2 separate regions of the Homo sapiens genome follow, and region 2 is linked to region 1. The links are contacts of gene promoters, found by promoter capture Hi-C in human tissues and cell types (Jung and others, 2019). All regions are on one chromosome and are shown on one strand. The core of a region is centred on a gene start or on the middle of the fragment in contact, and the rest is flanking DNA. Distances in the headings are between cores, read along the strand shown.

Region 1 (7,207 bases), core at 1,179-3,678:
GACACGTTCGGATTGACAATAGCTTCCCTGATGGATTGGTTGGTGCAGAGAGAGGAAATGAGTTGAAAACGAATCCTAGATTTTTGGCTTGAACAACTGGGACACAAAGGTATGAATTACAGATATAGGGATGTTGCAAACAGTAAGTGCTAACATTTATTAAATGTCTATTATATGTCATTATTCACTGAATTTCACATTTAATCTTCCCAACGATGTTGGAAAGGTAGGTACTGGTTTGTTAATGTGTGAACCTGTTAAGTTTCATAACAAACGACAGCATCTTAAGGACGGTGGCTATGATAAGTAAAAAGAATGTGGGAAAAGAGCGAAGCAACCCTTCATTTATTGGACAAGTATTACTTGATAAATGATAATAAAGCTCCTCTTTAATGCTTCCTCCCTTTGGCAGTGTTATACCCTTAGTAAAAAAAAAAGAAAAAAAGAAAAAACTGTTCAGAAAAATAAATCTTTGATTTTCTTCCAATTCCTTACGTTTACAAAAATAAAATGCTTTAAGTTTTAAAATTTATGTCAGTAAATGTAGGGCTAGCCTGATAAATTCACGTTTTATTTGGGAAGACTTGACTACACACACACACACTCCCTCCATCTCCGAAGGGGAAAAGCGACAAGGACAAACCGCAGCCTCAATACATCAAAGGCTGAGCTGGCACTACAGCCCATACATCATCAAGTTCACGGACACCCCTAGATGGCTCCGTGACACGGTCAAGGTCCTTGGGAACTCCCACACATTTCTATACTCGGCACACCGATCACCTCTCTTCAACTGACCTCTAGCCAACCTAAGATCCTGGTGGGAAGATTTATGAAAGGCAGTAAAATCAAGACAAGCAGGGAACCTGCGTAACCCCTTTAAGTCTCTAATGAAACAAATGCAATCCCTTAAGATATTTCTTAAGGAAAAGCTAGAAGATGCCTCTAATCGCAACTTGTTTCCAGAAAAGCTGGAAGGGCACCACTAAGACAAGGCAAAAAAAAAAAAAAAGGCAAAATATCGGAAAGTCTTATGCTGGAAGCGGGGGTGGGGAGGCGGGGGACAGGCAGACAGGGCTAGAAACACCCAAATCAATTCCTCAGGGAGCGAAACGGCAGAGGCCGGCAGCCCGCGGCCCACGTGCACTTGCTCAGGGAACCGTTCCAGCGAAACCTGACCCGGATCGGAATCCTCCCGCAGCACAGCGGCCGTGTTTATCGGAATGGAACGCTACAAGTTGTCACCTGCATCCCTCTCCCAGCTTTGACAGGGAACACGCGCTGCCCCCACGCCCACACCGACACCCGGATCCCTATCCAGCCCGGCCAGAGTCCCAGGGGCCAGGGACCAGTGCAGGGAGAAGGTCCCCCACCTCAGCCCTCAGGACCCCCAACCACAGCCCACCCGCCCCCACCCTGCTCGGTTCTAGGCCCAGCCGAACCTACATGTCCCCGTAGTGTCGAGCGTTATCATCCACAGTCGCCCCTCAAACTGTGACCCCCACCTGGGAGACCCGGAATCATCCAGGACCCTGGTGTGGGGGGCAGTACTCCCCATATCTGCCCCCCGAAAACTGCTATGGAGCAGCCGCGCCTCGGCGGGCAGGTGAGGGGGCCGAGCCCACCAGCGCCGCAGCCCCGCTGCCTACCTTCTTCAGCGCCGGCTGCCGCTCCCGGGCAGACATCGCCGGCCCTGACTTTGGGGCTGACACCGCCAAAGGGCAGTCAGTGCTCGCCCAGGCCACTTCGGGAGGCCCAGGGGCACGGCGAGGGGTCGGGGAAAGGCGATCGCCCACTACAGCCCGCGCGCCTAGACTGAGGGAGGAGCCGGGCTGCAGAACCGGCGGCGGATGGAGACGGGAGGGAGGCTGCGAGGTCGCTCGAGGAGAGACTAAGGCTCTAGAAACGGAGAAGCGGGCGCTCTGCGGGAGGCGGCGGCGCTGCCGCTGGCCGTCAAGGGCGGGAAGTGTTCTGGGACTCTCATTAGGGGCCGCGAGCCTCGAGCGTCAAATTCCCGCGGCGTCCGCCTAGCGCGCTGCTGTGGCGGGCGCGGAGGGCGCGCGCCGGCAGTGGGGGCTGCGGCGGCGGAGGGCACGGGCCCCCGCTCAGCGTCCTCACCTTCTTGGTGCAGCTGCCTCCCGCGAGCCGAGACACTCCTGTCAGGGAAGAGGAGCGCCCCGGCTGTCCCCCTAGAGTCTCCTGCTGGGGGGACATCGCTTCCATGAAGAAAATCTTCAAACAAATCCCAGCCCAGGAGGAGGCTACACGATCATGTCCGCGGGCTGCCGGCCGGAGGGGCGAGGACGCGCGGGCGGAGGCGCGGCTGCCGTGCTCAGGCAGGGAGCCGAGCTCCGGGTGCTCGCCGCGCGCCTCCCGTCGGGGCCATGTACCTCCGCCTGCGCTCGACACCGCGGGCTGGAGGCGAGTGCAGCGGCGACAGCCCGTCAGCGCCGCGGCCCGCCCCGCCTCGGGCCCGCCCCCTCCGCTCCGGGCGCCCTGCGCCGGGGCCCGCCCCCGCAGCCCTCCTCAGCCCTCCTCCAGCCTGGGCCCTCCTAGCCTCGTCCCAGCCTGCGGCGCGCCTGGCGGGCGTCTCTCTATATATGTTAGCACACCGGCCACCGGCTGACCTTTTCGGTCTGTGACTCCGCGTGGGTGCAGCCCGCAGGAGCTCATCGGCCTGTGTCACGCACGGGGGCCTCTAGTGCACGGACACGCGCCTCTCCCGCCACCTGCCCACTCCCACCAGACCCCATCCCTTCCCGCGCCGTGCCCGCGGCGGAAGGCGCCCCTGCAGCGCGTGCATCCGCGGAGCGGTGGCGACCTCAGCCTGAGCAGAGGAGTTGCAGTGATTCCTGCCTCGCTTTCAGCGGACTGCGGAGGGAATCCCCCACCCCACCCCACTGGGGATAGGGTGGCACGTCGCAGAGTGTCGCAGCTGTACAAATTTGGAAGCCCACAGCATCGCCTGACCTCTTGTGCAATCCCGAACGCTAGCCTGTTCGGGTAACCCTGAGTGGGCTTCTGCAGCCGGTCATGTCAGCGGCCCCTGCACATTTGCACCCGCGGTTTCCGCTGTCTGCAGGCTGCAGAGACGGGGGCATTCCAAACGTGAAAGAGCAATGAAGGAAAATGCAGACAGAGCGAGGACGCCGAAATTTGGCTAAGCTATTGAGAAGGCTACAATATGTGGAAGTGTTTATCAGATATCTGCGCCGAGAGCATAACTTCCTGTCAGCCCAAATAGAGGCAAAAATATTTTAAAGGCCAAAGAATAATCAGAGGGAGAGGATTTGGAGCTGACCCGCGTTGAGCTGAGTGTTGCTGCACTTTGCGGGGCTGGTTGACTGGTACGGATGATTCGGTAGATGGCATTCTTCCCTTGGAGTCAGGACTAGAGAAGCAGTGGCGGATTAGTGAGGAAGGACACCACGCTATGATATTAGGTTGTGGAAGGGGTTTGGTTTGCTTTTGTGGTAAGAAGAAAAAAATCGAGGTTCCTGCCAGGTTAGGCTGTTATTAGGACAGGTTGTAGAAGAATAGGGCTCTGGCCGGCTCTGTTCCAAGGAAGGGATGCTGTCCAACACACACTCGCGCGCGCACACATCACCACCATGCCCAGGAATGGTTTATTGTGGAAATAATAGGGGGAAAATGTTCCAGCCCGTTTTAAGCCTTGTCCACCTCACACTGTTTAAAGTAGGCTTACATAGGCTTTATAAATCACACACACGTATAAATCACACACACGTATAAATCACATGTATGATTTGTAAATCATCTATTATTGTGTTTATGTATGTGTGCATATACACACACAGTTTTTCATGGCTACTCTCTTTTTGCAGCTGAGACCCATGTGCAGCGACAGGACTTTGCCCCCACCATAGAGTTTGTCATGAATTCTACACGCAGAGGGCTTTGCAGTTCCTTTCATTCCTTGCTGAAATCATCCACTTACAACTCGTTAGCCTCTTTTGGTTCCTATCATAAATGCACGCTCCCAATTTTCCTTACTCTGTTTTATTTCGATAACACTTATCTCCTTCTAATATATCATGTAATTTACTTAGTATGTTTAGTGTTTATTATCTATATCTCAGAGAAATGCAAGCTTCCAGAGGGCAGGAATCTTTTGTGGGCTTTTGTTGTTGTTGTTGTTATTGTTGTTCTTTGTCGTATACCAAGTGCTTGAAGCAGTGTCTGGTGCAATAAATGTTCGTTTGCTAAGGGAATTAATGAGGCATACAAGGGTTATGAGATAGATCTTAGAAGGGCCAGACTGGTAGAGTTGGTTGTTTCACTCAGAGTGTCCCATGTTTCTGTTTGTGATCTTCTTTTTTGCACAGGTTTGATCTGTGATCAATACTACATGTTCCAAATCAAAGTAGTATTTTACTGCAGATTTGGAAAACTCACTCTTACTTCTTAATTTTTAAGTGCTTTTACTTCAAAACCCATTAGTTTTGGTTTGCATAGAAAACTGTCCCATACCTAAAGAAAACTGACTTTGCTCAGATTAATGCTATCACCAGAATCGTGTTTTAAGAACACAAATTTGATCACATCACTCCCCTGATTAAACCCTTCTTTGGCTCCTTGTGTTTACAGAATAAATTTCAAATGCCATAGTATGATATGCAAGACTGCCTATAAACAGACATCCTTGCCTCCACTTATTTCTCTTGTCATTTATTGCTCCTCTTCAACTCTCACCCTATTCCCTGTCACATTGAATTCGCCAAGAAGTCACCTTCCAAGAACTCGCCTTGCCTTCTCACATCTTTGTGACTTTGAACCTGCTGTTTGCATTGCGTGGGAAGTTTTCCTTCTATATTTCCAACCCCTATTACTTTACACTTAAATATCTAATACTTGGTGCATAGTAAATGCCCAGTAAATATTTGTTGAGGAAATAAATCTCCCAGATTTGAATCAATAATTACCTTAGAAAAATCTTCCTGACTTTATTTCTCCTTATCTAGCTACCTCCACACACCAACCATACACATGGGGCATCCACTGTAGGTAACATTTATTGATTGCTTACTTAATGCCAGTGAGTACCTGTGGGTAACAGGTAACATTTATTGAGTGCTTACTTAATGCCAGACACTGTTCTAAGCATTTTACACACATTAATTTAGTTATATCTTTATAATCTATGAGGTAGCTTCTTTTACTACCCCATTTTATAGATGAGAAAACCAAGCCACAAGGATATTAAGTAATATGCTCAAACAGCTAGTAAGTAGTCTTGCTGAGCTTAGAACATGGGAAGTCTGCTTCAGAACCTGTGTTCTTAGCCACGTGGCCAACTGCCTCTCCTGTGTGTATTTCTTTGTCTTTATAACACATATTACATTATACCATTACCATCTGTTTTACTTGCCTTGAAATAGAAGATCGTATTTTGTCTTTTCTTCTTTATGCCAGGCACACAAGTATGCTCTCAATGAATTTTTTTTCAATGTCTTACCTTTGAAAGAATGGATGCAATATTAGAAACAACCATCTTCATCTCCATTATTATGCTGTACAGTTTAAGGAAGATACTCTGATGGGAAAGAAACAATTCTGGACTATTCATTAGACTGTGAAACTATTTTCCATGCACTAGGAATGTTATGTTGTAGAAAAGGGTGGTGCCAGAAAACAAAAATGATAAGACAGTTAAGGGAGTGTGATGACCTATGTCTGACAAAAGCAGAAAGTATCCAGAATATTTCGAAACAAATCTTAAAGCAAACTACTAGGAATAGCAACACTTAACAGCTGGGAAATGCCAATAGCAGACCTTTAGCAGAAACTAAGAATGAAACCAAAAGGTTTTGCCAACCATTAGATTAAATAACAGTGAAGAAATTTAACTATAAAAGGAAATGTTTGGGCCAGGTACAGTGACTCATGCCTATAATCTCAGCACTTTAGGAGGTTGAGGAGGGAGAATTGTGTGAGGCCAGAAGTTCAAGACCCTGTCTCTACAAAAAGGAAAAAAAAAATAGTGGGGTGTGGTGGCACATGCCTGTAGTCCCAGCTACTCAGGAGGCTGAGGCAGGAGGATCGCTTGAGCCAAGGAGTTTAAGGTTACAGTGAACTATGATTGTGCCACTGCACTTGAGCCTGAGTGACATAGTGAGACCCTGTTTGTTAATTAAAAAATAAAAAAGATGTTCATGAAACTCATTCATTCAATGATATTTATGTGCAGGATACCGTGCCAGGTGCTTGGGGTACAGTCAAGATGAATCCCCAGAAATAGTCCTTGCAAACCCCAAGATGCACACAAGAATCATTCACTGCTATCTAAATACCCTACATGAGTGATTGCAAACTGATGGCCATCTGGGCGAATTCTGGCTTGTTTTTCAACATATGCACTTTCTTTTCAAACTTATTACTAACCTTAAAAATCAAAATATTTCAAATAGAATTCTGGGTTCTCTTGAAAAAAAAAATCAAGAAATTAACAACATTTAAACTCAACTTCTCCAAGGAGCCAGTCAGCTAAAACTGACTCATAGCTGTGTTATTTCATTAAATGCTCAAAACAACCCTAAGGAAAATGCACTCTCATAGTCATCACTGTCCCTAGTTCTGGGAAACTACAAACAAATAAGGCAATGGAAGGTGAAAAAGTGGCAAGAGACATAGAGAAGAGGCCAGGGAATGAGAAACACAAAGTGGGTGCTTTTTTAAAAAAAGTAAGCCAAAGTAATAGAGTTTTTCAGGAACAGAAACGGTCGACAATATCTTCCGCTGCAAGAGAGTAAGCTGGTAAAGACTAAAGTATAACGAGAAGAGAGAAAGTTGAGACTACTCTTTCAAGAAGCTTGGCCCAGAATGAATATGAGAAAGGGCAGGAGCTATCAGAGGAAGATGGGATCTATTTTATTACTAAATTAGAGGGCAGATCTGTTAAGAGTGAGGCAAGATGTTAGTCTTCACTTGGAAAACAAAGCCAGAAGGAAGTGTGTTTCTAGAAGAAGAAAGTGATCAGTAACGTCAAGAAAGATGACTGAAAAATATCTACTGAATTTATCAACCAGCAGGTCATTGATGAGTTTATCTGGAAAGGCTTGAGTGAAATGAATGGACCAGGGATTTAGAAGAGAGGAAGAAGTGAAGACAGTGAATGTGCACAACTCTCTTGGGAAGTATGATTGGGACAGGGAGGAGAGAGAGCTGAAGAGGATAGGAGTTTGGAGGG
Region 2 (7,207 bases), core at 2,948-5,447, 270 kb before region 1:
GCACTTATAAGTGAGAACACTTTGCTTTTCTGGTTCTGTGTTAATTTACTCGGGATAATGGCCTTGAGCTGTATCCATGTTGCTGGAAAGGACATAGTTTTATTCTTTTTATGGCTGCATATTCCGTGGTATATGTGTATTACATTTTCTTTATCCAATCCACCATTGACAGGCACCCAGACTGATTCCATATGTTTGCTATTATGAATAGTGCTGAGGTAAACATACGAGAGCATGTGTCTTTTGGTAGAATTATTTGTTTTCTCTTGGGTATGTACCCAGTACTGGGATTGCTTGGTTGAATGGTAGTTCCATTTTTAGTTCTTTGAGAAATCTCCAAACTGCTTTCCACAGCAGCTTAACTAATTTACATTCCCACCAGGACTGTCTTAAGTGTTTCCTTTTCTCCGCAGCCTTGCCAACATCTGTAATTTTTTGACTTTTTAATGATATTCTTTATGACTGGTGCAAGATGGTATCTCATTGTGGTTTTGATTTGCAGAGTGGAGTATTTTTTCATGTTTCATGTTTGTTGACCACTTGTATGTCTTCTTTTTTAAATATTTATTTATTTATTTTTGACACAAAGTCTCACTGTCACCCAGGCTGGAGTGCAGTGGCGCAGTCTGGGCTCACTGCAACCTTCGCCTCCCAAGTTCAAGCGATTCTCCTGCCTCAGTCTCCTGAGTAGCTGGAATTATAAAGGTGTGCCACCACGGCTAGCAAATTTTTATATTTTTAGTAGTTTTATATTTTTATAATTTTATGATTATTTTCAAATTTTATATTTTTAGTTTTGCCGCATTGACCAGGCTGGTCTTGAATTCCTGACCTCAAGTGATCTGCCTACTTCGGCCTCCCAAAGTGCTGGGATTACAGGCGTGAGCCACCATGCCTGACTTCTGCCCGCTTTTTAATGAAGTTATTTGTTTTTTGCTTGTTGATCTGTTTAAGTTCCCTATTGATTCTGGATATTAGACCTTTGTTGGATTCATAGTTTGTGAATATTTTCTCTCATTCTGTAGGGTGTTTACTTTGTTTTTTTGTTTGTTTTTTGAGACGGAGTCTTGTTCTGTCGCCCAGGCTAGAGTGCAATGATGTGATCTCGGCTTGCTGATTCACCTCCACCTCCTGGGTTCAAGTGATTCTCCTGCCTCAGCCTCTTGAGTAGCTGGGATTACAGGCACTCACTACCACGCCCAGCTAATTTTTGTATTTTTAGTAGAGATAGGGTTTCACCATGTTGGCCAGGCTGGTCTGGAACTCCTGATCTCAAATGATCTGCCCACCTTGGCCTCCCAAGTACTGGGATTACAGGTGTCAGCCACCATGCCTGCTCTGCCCACTTCCCCCCAACCCCGAGACGGAGTCTCACTCTGTTGTCCAGGTTGGAGTGCAGTGCTACTGTCTTAGCTCACTGCACCCTTCACCTCCTGGGTTAAAGCAATTCTCCTACCTCAGCTTCCCGAGTACCTGGGATTACAGGTGCATGCTACCATGCCCGGCTAATTTTTTTGTATTTTTAGTAGAGATGGGGTTTCCCATGTTGGCCAGGCTAGTCTCGAACTCCTGACCTCATGATCTGCCCGATTTGGCCTCCCAAAGTGCTGGGATTACAGGTGTGAGCCACCACACCCGGCCCTCTGCCCACTTTTTAATGAGGTTATTTGTTTTTTGCTTGTTGATCTGTTTAAGTTCCCTATAGATTCTGGATATTAGACCTTTGTTGGATGCATAGATTGTGAATATTTTTTCTCATTTTCTAGGGTGTTTACTTTGTTGATAGTTTCTTTAATGTGTCGAAGCTCTTTAATCAGGTCCCATTTGTCAATTTTTGTTTTTGTTGCAATTGATTTTGAGGACTTAGTCATAAAAATTCTTTGCCGAGGCCAATTTCCAGGAGAGCATTTCTGAGGTTTTCTTCTAGGACTTTTGTAGCTTTAGATCTTACATTTAAGTCTTTAATCTATTTTGAGTTAAATTTTGTATACAGTGATAGGTAGGGGTCTAGTTTCATTTTTCTGCATATAATAGCCATCAATCCCAGCACTGTTTACTGAATAGGGAGTTCTTTCCTCATTGCTTATTTTTGTTGACTTTGTGAAAGATCAGATTTTCTAGATGTATGGCTTTATTTTTCGGGTCTCTATTCTGTTCCTTTGGTCTGTGTGTCTAGGTTTTCTAGGTTGTGTGCATAGGGGTGCTGATAATAGTCTCTAGGATCTTTGTATCTTTATGGGATTGGTTGTAATGCCATCTTTGTCATTTCTAATTATTCTTATTTGGATCATCTCTTTTTTTTTCTTTGTTAATCTAGCTAGTGGTCTATCCATTTTGTTTATTCTTTCAGAAAAGCAACTTTTGGTTTTGTTGATCCTTTGTATAGATTTTTGGGTCTCGATTTTGTTCAGTTCTGCTTTGAGTTTGTTATTTCTTCTGCTAGCTTTGGGTTTTTTGTTTTTCAAGTTCTTCTAGGTTAATTTTAGATTGTTAATTTGAGATCTTTCTAACTCCTCAATATAGGCGGTCAGTGCTCTAAACTTCATCTTAGCACTACTTTTGCTGCATCCCAGAGATTTTGGTATCTGTGTCTCTGCTTTTATTTATTTCAAAGAATTTTTTGATTTCTGCCATATGGTGGAGCCACTTTAGCTGGTAGAAATATTTTCTGATCTTTGACAGAATGGGTAAACCATGCTATTGTTTGTGTGCATTGGAAGTTGTGGCTGTTGTGCTGTTGAAAAAATTTAAATCTTAATATCTCATAACAGTGTTAACTAAACTTTCATTTAGTGATGGTGTGGTACTGAAATATGTCCCAAATCAATAACATTGGAATGGATGCTAAACATGATCTAACACAAAAAAAGGCTAAACAATCAGCCTGACGTTTGGTGCTGTTAATTTAGGTGTAGATACTGTAAAGACAAAAGTACTTAGAAAATAGGATTTTAAAAAGACATTACGGTAGGAATATTTTTAAGCTCACAAAAAAATCACTTGGTGAAGGGTAATGGAAAACAATACTGGTGGTCTGGCTGTGTCCACACCCAAATCTCATCTTGAATTCCCACCTGTTATAGGAGGGACCCAGTGGGAGGTAATTGAATCCTGGGGGCAGGTCTTTCTTATGCTGTTCTTGTGACAGTGAATAAATCTCACAAGATCTGACAATTTTATAAGAGGGAGTTTCCCTGCACAAGCTCTCTGCATGCCTGCTGCCATCCATGTAAGATATGACTTGCTTCTTCTTGCCTTCTGCCAGTATTGTGAGGCTTCCTCAGCCACATGGAACTGTAAGTCCATTAAACACTTTTTCCTGTATAAATTACCCAGTTTCGGATATGTCTTTGTCAGCAGTGTGAAAATGGACTAATAAAGCAAATTGGTACGAGGAGTAGGGTGCTGCTGAAAAGATACCCCAAATGTGGAAGCAACTTTGGAACCAGGTAACAGGCAGACATTGGAACAGTTTGGAGGGCTCAGGAGAAGATAGGAAAATATGGGAAAGTTTGGAACTCCCTAGAGACTTGTGGAATGGCTTTGGCCAAAATGCTGATAACGATATGGACAATGAAATTCAGGCTGAGGTGGTCTCAGATGGAGACGAGGAACTTGTTGGGAATTGGAGTAAAGGTGACTCTTGCTATGTTTTAGCAAAGAGACTAGCGCATTTTGCCCCTGCCCTAGAGATTTGTGGAACTTTGAACTTAAGAGATGATACTTAGGGTATCTGGCAGAAGAAATTTCTAAGCAGCAAATCATTCAAGAGGTGACTTGGGTGCTGTTAAAGGCATTCAGTTTTAAAAGGAAACAGCATAAAAAAGTTTGGAAAATTTGCAGCCTGACAATGTGATAGAAAAGAAAACCCCATTTTCTGGGGAAAAATTCAAGCTGGCTGCAGAAATTTGGGTAAGGAATGAGGAGCTGAAAGTTAATCCCTGAGATACTGGGGAAAATGTCTCCAGGGCATGTCAGAGATCTTCATGGCAGCCCCTCCCATCACAGGCCTGGAAGCCTAGGAGGAAAAAGTGGTTTTGTGGGCTGGGCCCAGGGCCCCCTTGCTGTGTACAGCCTAGGGACTTGGTGCTCTGTGTCCCAGCTGTCCCAGCTGTGGCTGAAAGGGGCCAATGTAGAGCTAGGGCCGTGGCTTCAGAGTGTGCAAACCTCAAGCCTTGGCAGCTTCCATGTGGTATTGAGCCTGCTAGTGTACAGAAGTCAAGAACTGGGGCTTGGGAACCTCCGCCTAGATTTCAGAGGATGTATGGAAATGCCTAGATGTTCCAGGCAGTAGTTTTTTGCAGGGCAGGGCTCTCATGGAGAACTTCTGCTAGGGCAGTGCAGAAGGGAAATGTGGGGTTGGAGCCCCCACACAGAGTCCCTATTGGGGCACCGCCTAGTGGAGCTGTGCGAAGAGGGCCACTGCCCTCCAAACCTCAGAATGGTAGATCCACTGACAGCTTGCATGATATGCCTGGAAAAGCCACAGACACTCAATGCCAGCCCATGAAAGCAGCCAGGAGGGAGGCTGTATCCTGCAAAGCCACAGGGGTGGAGCTGCCCAAGACCATGGGAACCCAGCTCTTGCATCAGTGTGACCTGGATGTGAGACATGTAGTCAAAGGAGATCATTTTGGAGCTTTAAGATTTGACTGCCCTGCTGGATTTTGGACTTGCATGGGGTCTGTAGCCCCTTTGTTTTGACCGATTTCTCCCATTTGGAATAGCTATATTTACCCAATGCCTGTACCCCCATTGTATCTAGGAAGTAACTAACTTGCTTTTGATTTTACAGGCTCATAGGCAGAAGGGACTTGCCTTATCTTGGATGAGACTTTGGACTGTGGACTTTTGAATTAATGCTGAAAAGAGTTAAGACTGTTGGAAAGGCATGATTGGTTTTGAAATGTGAGGACATGAGATTTGGGAGGGACCAGGGGCAGAATGATATGGTCTAGCCATGTCCCCTCCTATCCAGACCTCATCTTGAATTCCCACGGGTTGTGGGAGGGACCCAGTGGTAGGTAATTGAATCTTGGGGGCAGGTCTTTCCCATGCTGTTCTCCTGACAGTGAATAAGACTCACAATATCTGACAGTTTTATAAGGGGAGGGGGGTTCCCTGCACAAGCTCTCTGCCTGACGCCATCCATGTAAGATGTGACTTGTTCCTCGTTGCCTTCTGCCAGGATTGTGAGGCTTCCCCAGCCATTGTGGAACTGTAAGTTCATTAAACCCTTTTTCCTGTATAAATTACCCAGTTTCAGGTATGTCTTTATCAGCAGCATGAAAATGGACTAATACAATTGGTTACATAGTTGAAGACACAAAACTGTGGCAGTGTACCTCAGTCTGCAATGGCTGATGTTTATGGGTGCTGAAAATTCATCTTTACCCCTGCCCTGCCCCGCTACCTTTTTTTTTTCTGTAGGAAAATGTCTCAAGTTTTAAATTATGTAAAGCTTTCAGCACTAGCATCTTTGGTATAAAAAAAGATGATGGGATTTAGATTATCTTCCCTCCCCACCACATCATTTAACATGCCGTCTGTGGTTTTTGGACTTAATAATATCCTTTTTTTTTTTTTTTTTTTGAGACGTAGTTTTGCTCTTTTTGCCCAGGCTGGAATGCAATGGCACGATCTCGGCTCATTGCAACCTCTGCCTCCCTGGTTCAAGTGATTCTCCTGCCTTAGCCTCCTGAGTAGCTGGGATTACAGGTGTCTACCACCACGCCCACCTAATTTTTAAAATATTTTTAGCAGAGACGGGGTTTCACCATGTTGGGCAGGCTGGTTTCGAACTCCTGACCTCAAGTGATCCGCCTGCCTTGGCCTCCCAAAGTGCTAGAATTACAGGTGTGAGCCACTACGCCTTGGCCAACAGCTAATGCCCTTTCTGATTGGTGTGAGATGGTATCTCATTGTGGTTTTGATTTGCATTTCTCTGATGATTAGTGATGTGGAGCATTTTTTTCATGTTTGTTGGCTGCTTGTATGGCTTTTTTTGAGAAGTGTCTGTTCATGTCCTTTGCCTATTTTTTTAATGAGGTTGTTTTTTGCTTATTGATTTAAGTTCCCTATAGATTCTGGATATTAGACCTTTGTTAGATGCATAGTTGGTGAATATTTTCTCCCACTCTGTAGGTTGTCTGTTTACTTTGTTGATAGTTTTTTTTGCTGTCTAGAAGCTCTTTGTTTAATTAGATCCCACTTACCAATTTTTGCTTTTGTTGCAATTGCTTTTGGAGACTTAGCCAAAAATCCTTTGCCAATCCAATGTCTAGAAGAGTATTTCCTTGATTGTCTTTTTTATAGTTTGAGGTCTTAAATTTAAATCTTTGATCCATTTTGGGTTAATTTTTGTGTATGGTGAAAGGTAGGGAGTCCAAGTTCAGACTTCTGCCTATGGCTAGCCAGGCATCCCAGCACCATTATTGAATACGGAGTCTCTTAAAAAGAGTAAGTGCTGTCCGGGCGCGTTGGCTCATGCCTGTAATCCTGGCACTTTGGGAGGCCAAGGCAGGCAGATCACTTGAGGTCAGGAGTTTGAGACTAGCCTGGCCAACATGGTGAAGCCCCATCTCTACTAAAAATACAAAAATTAGCCAGGTGTGGTGGCATACACCTGTAGTCCCAGCTACTTGGGAGGCTGAGGCACCAGAATCACTTGAATCTGGGAGGCGGAGGTTGCAGTGAGCTGAGATTGTGCCTCTGTACTCCACCCTGGGTGACTGAGCAAGACTGTCTCAAAAAAAAAAGAAAATATATGTGTGTGTGTGTGTGTGTATATATATATATACGTATATATATATATATATACACGTATATATATATATATACGTATATATATATATATACGTATATATATATATATATATACACGTATATATATATATATATATTTGCAGAACAACCTCTGAGCTGCCTCACTCTGGGCACACTGCCTATGGGATAGCTGTGCTCCACAAGGAGTCCTACTTCTGCTGCTGCTGTATGCTGCTGCTTCAATGAAAGTTGCTATTTAACACGACCGACCCGCCCTGAATCGTTTCCTGGGCAAAGCTAAGAACCTTCCTGGGCTAAGCCCCAATTTTGGGGCCTGTCTACCCTGCATCAATTCTATATGAATTTTAGAATAGTTTTTTTATAATTCTGTGAAAAATGATGTTGGTAGTTTGATAGGAATAGTGTTGAATCTGTAAATTGC

Evidence for each region. Contacts are between HindIII fragments. The study calls those that stand out against the background at their distance.
Region 2: a contact is called between a fragment that was not itself captured here and the fragment with the promoter of ARHGAP20 in region 1, in 1 of the 25 tissues and cell types used here (H1 embryonic stem cells).

The regions. Positions count from the first base shown.
Region 1 is chr11:110,710,009-110,717,215 of GRCh38, forward strand. ARHGAP20 (Rho GTPase activating protein 20) reads right to left here and starts at 2,429. Exons shown (of 15, transcript NM_001384657.1): 1 at 2,119-2,429. The coding sequence starts at 2,223. RefSeq lists enhancers at 648-1,293, 2,276-2,777 and silencers at 2,301-2,360, 2,381-2,540. The HindIII fragment of the contact is 8,017 bases long and covers 1-5,470 here.
Region 2 is chr11:110,437,866-110,445,072 of GRCh38, forward strand. All of the region lies in intron 2 of FDX1 (ferredoxin 1), which reads left to right. Among named protein-coding and RNA genes, the nearest start is that of FDX1, 12 kb to the left of the region's middle. The HindIII fragment of the contact is 5,261 bases long and covers 1,568-6,828 here.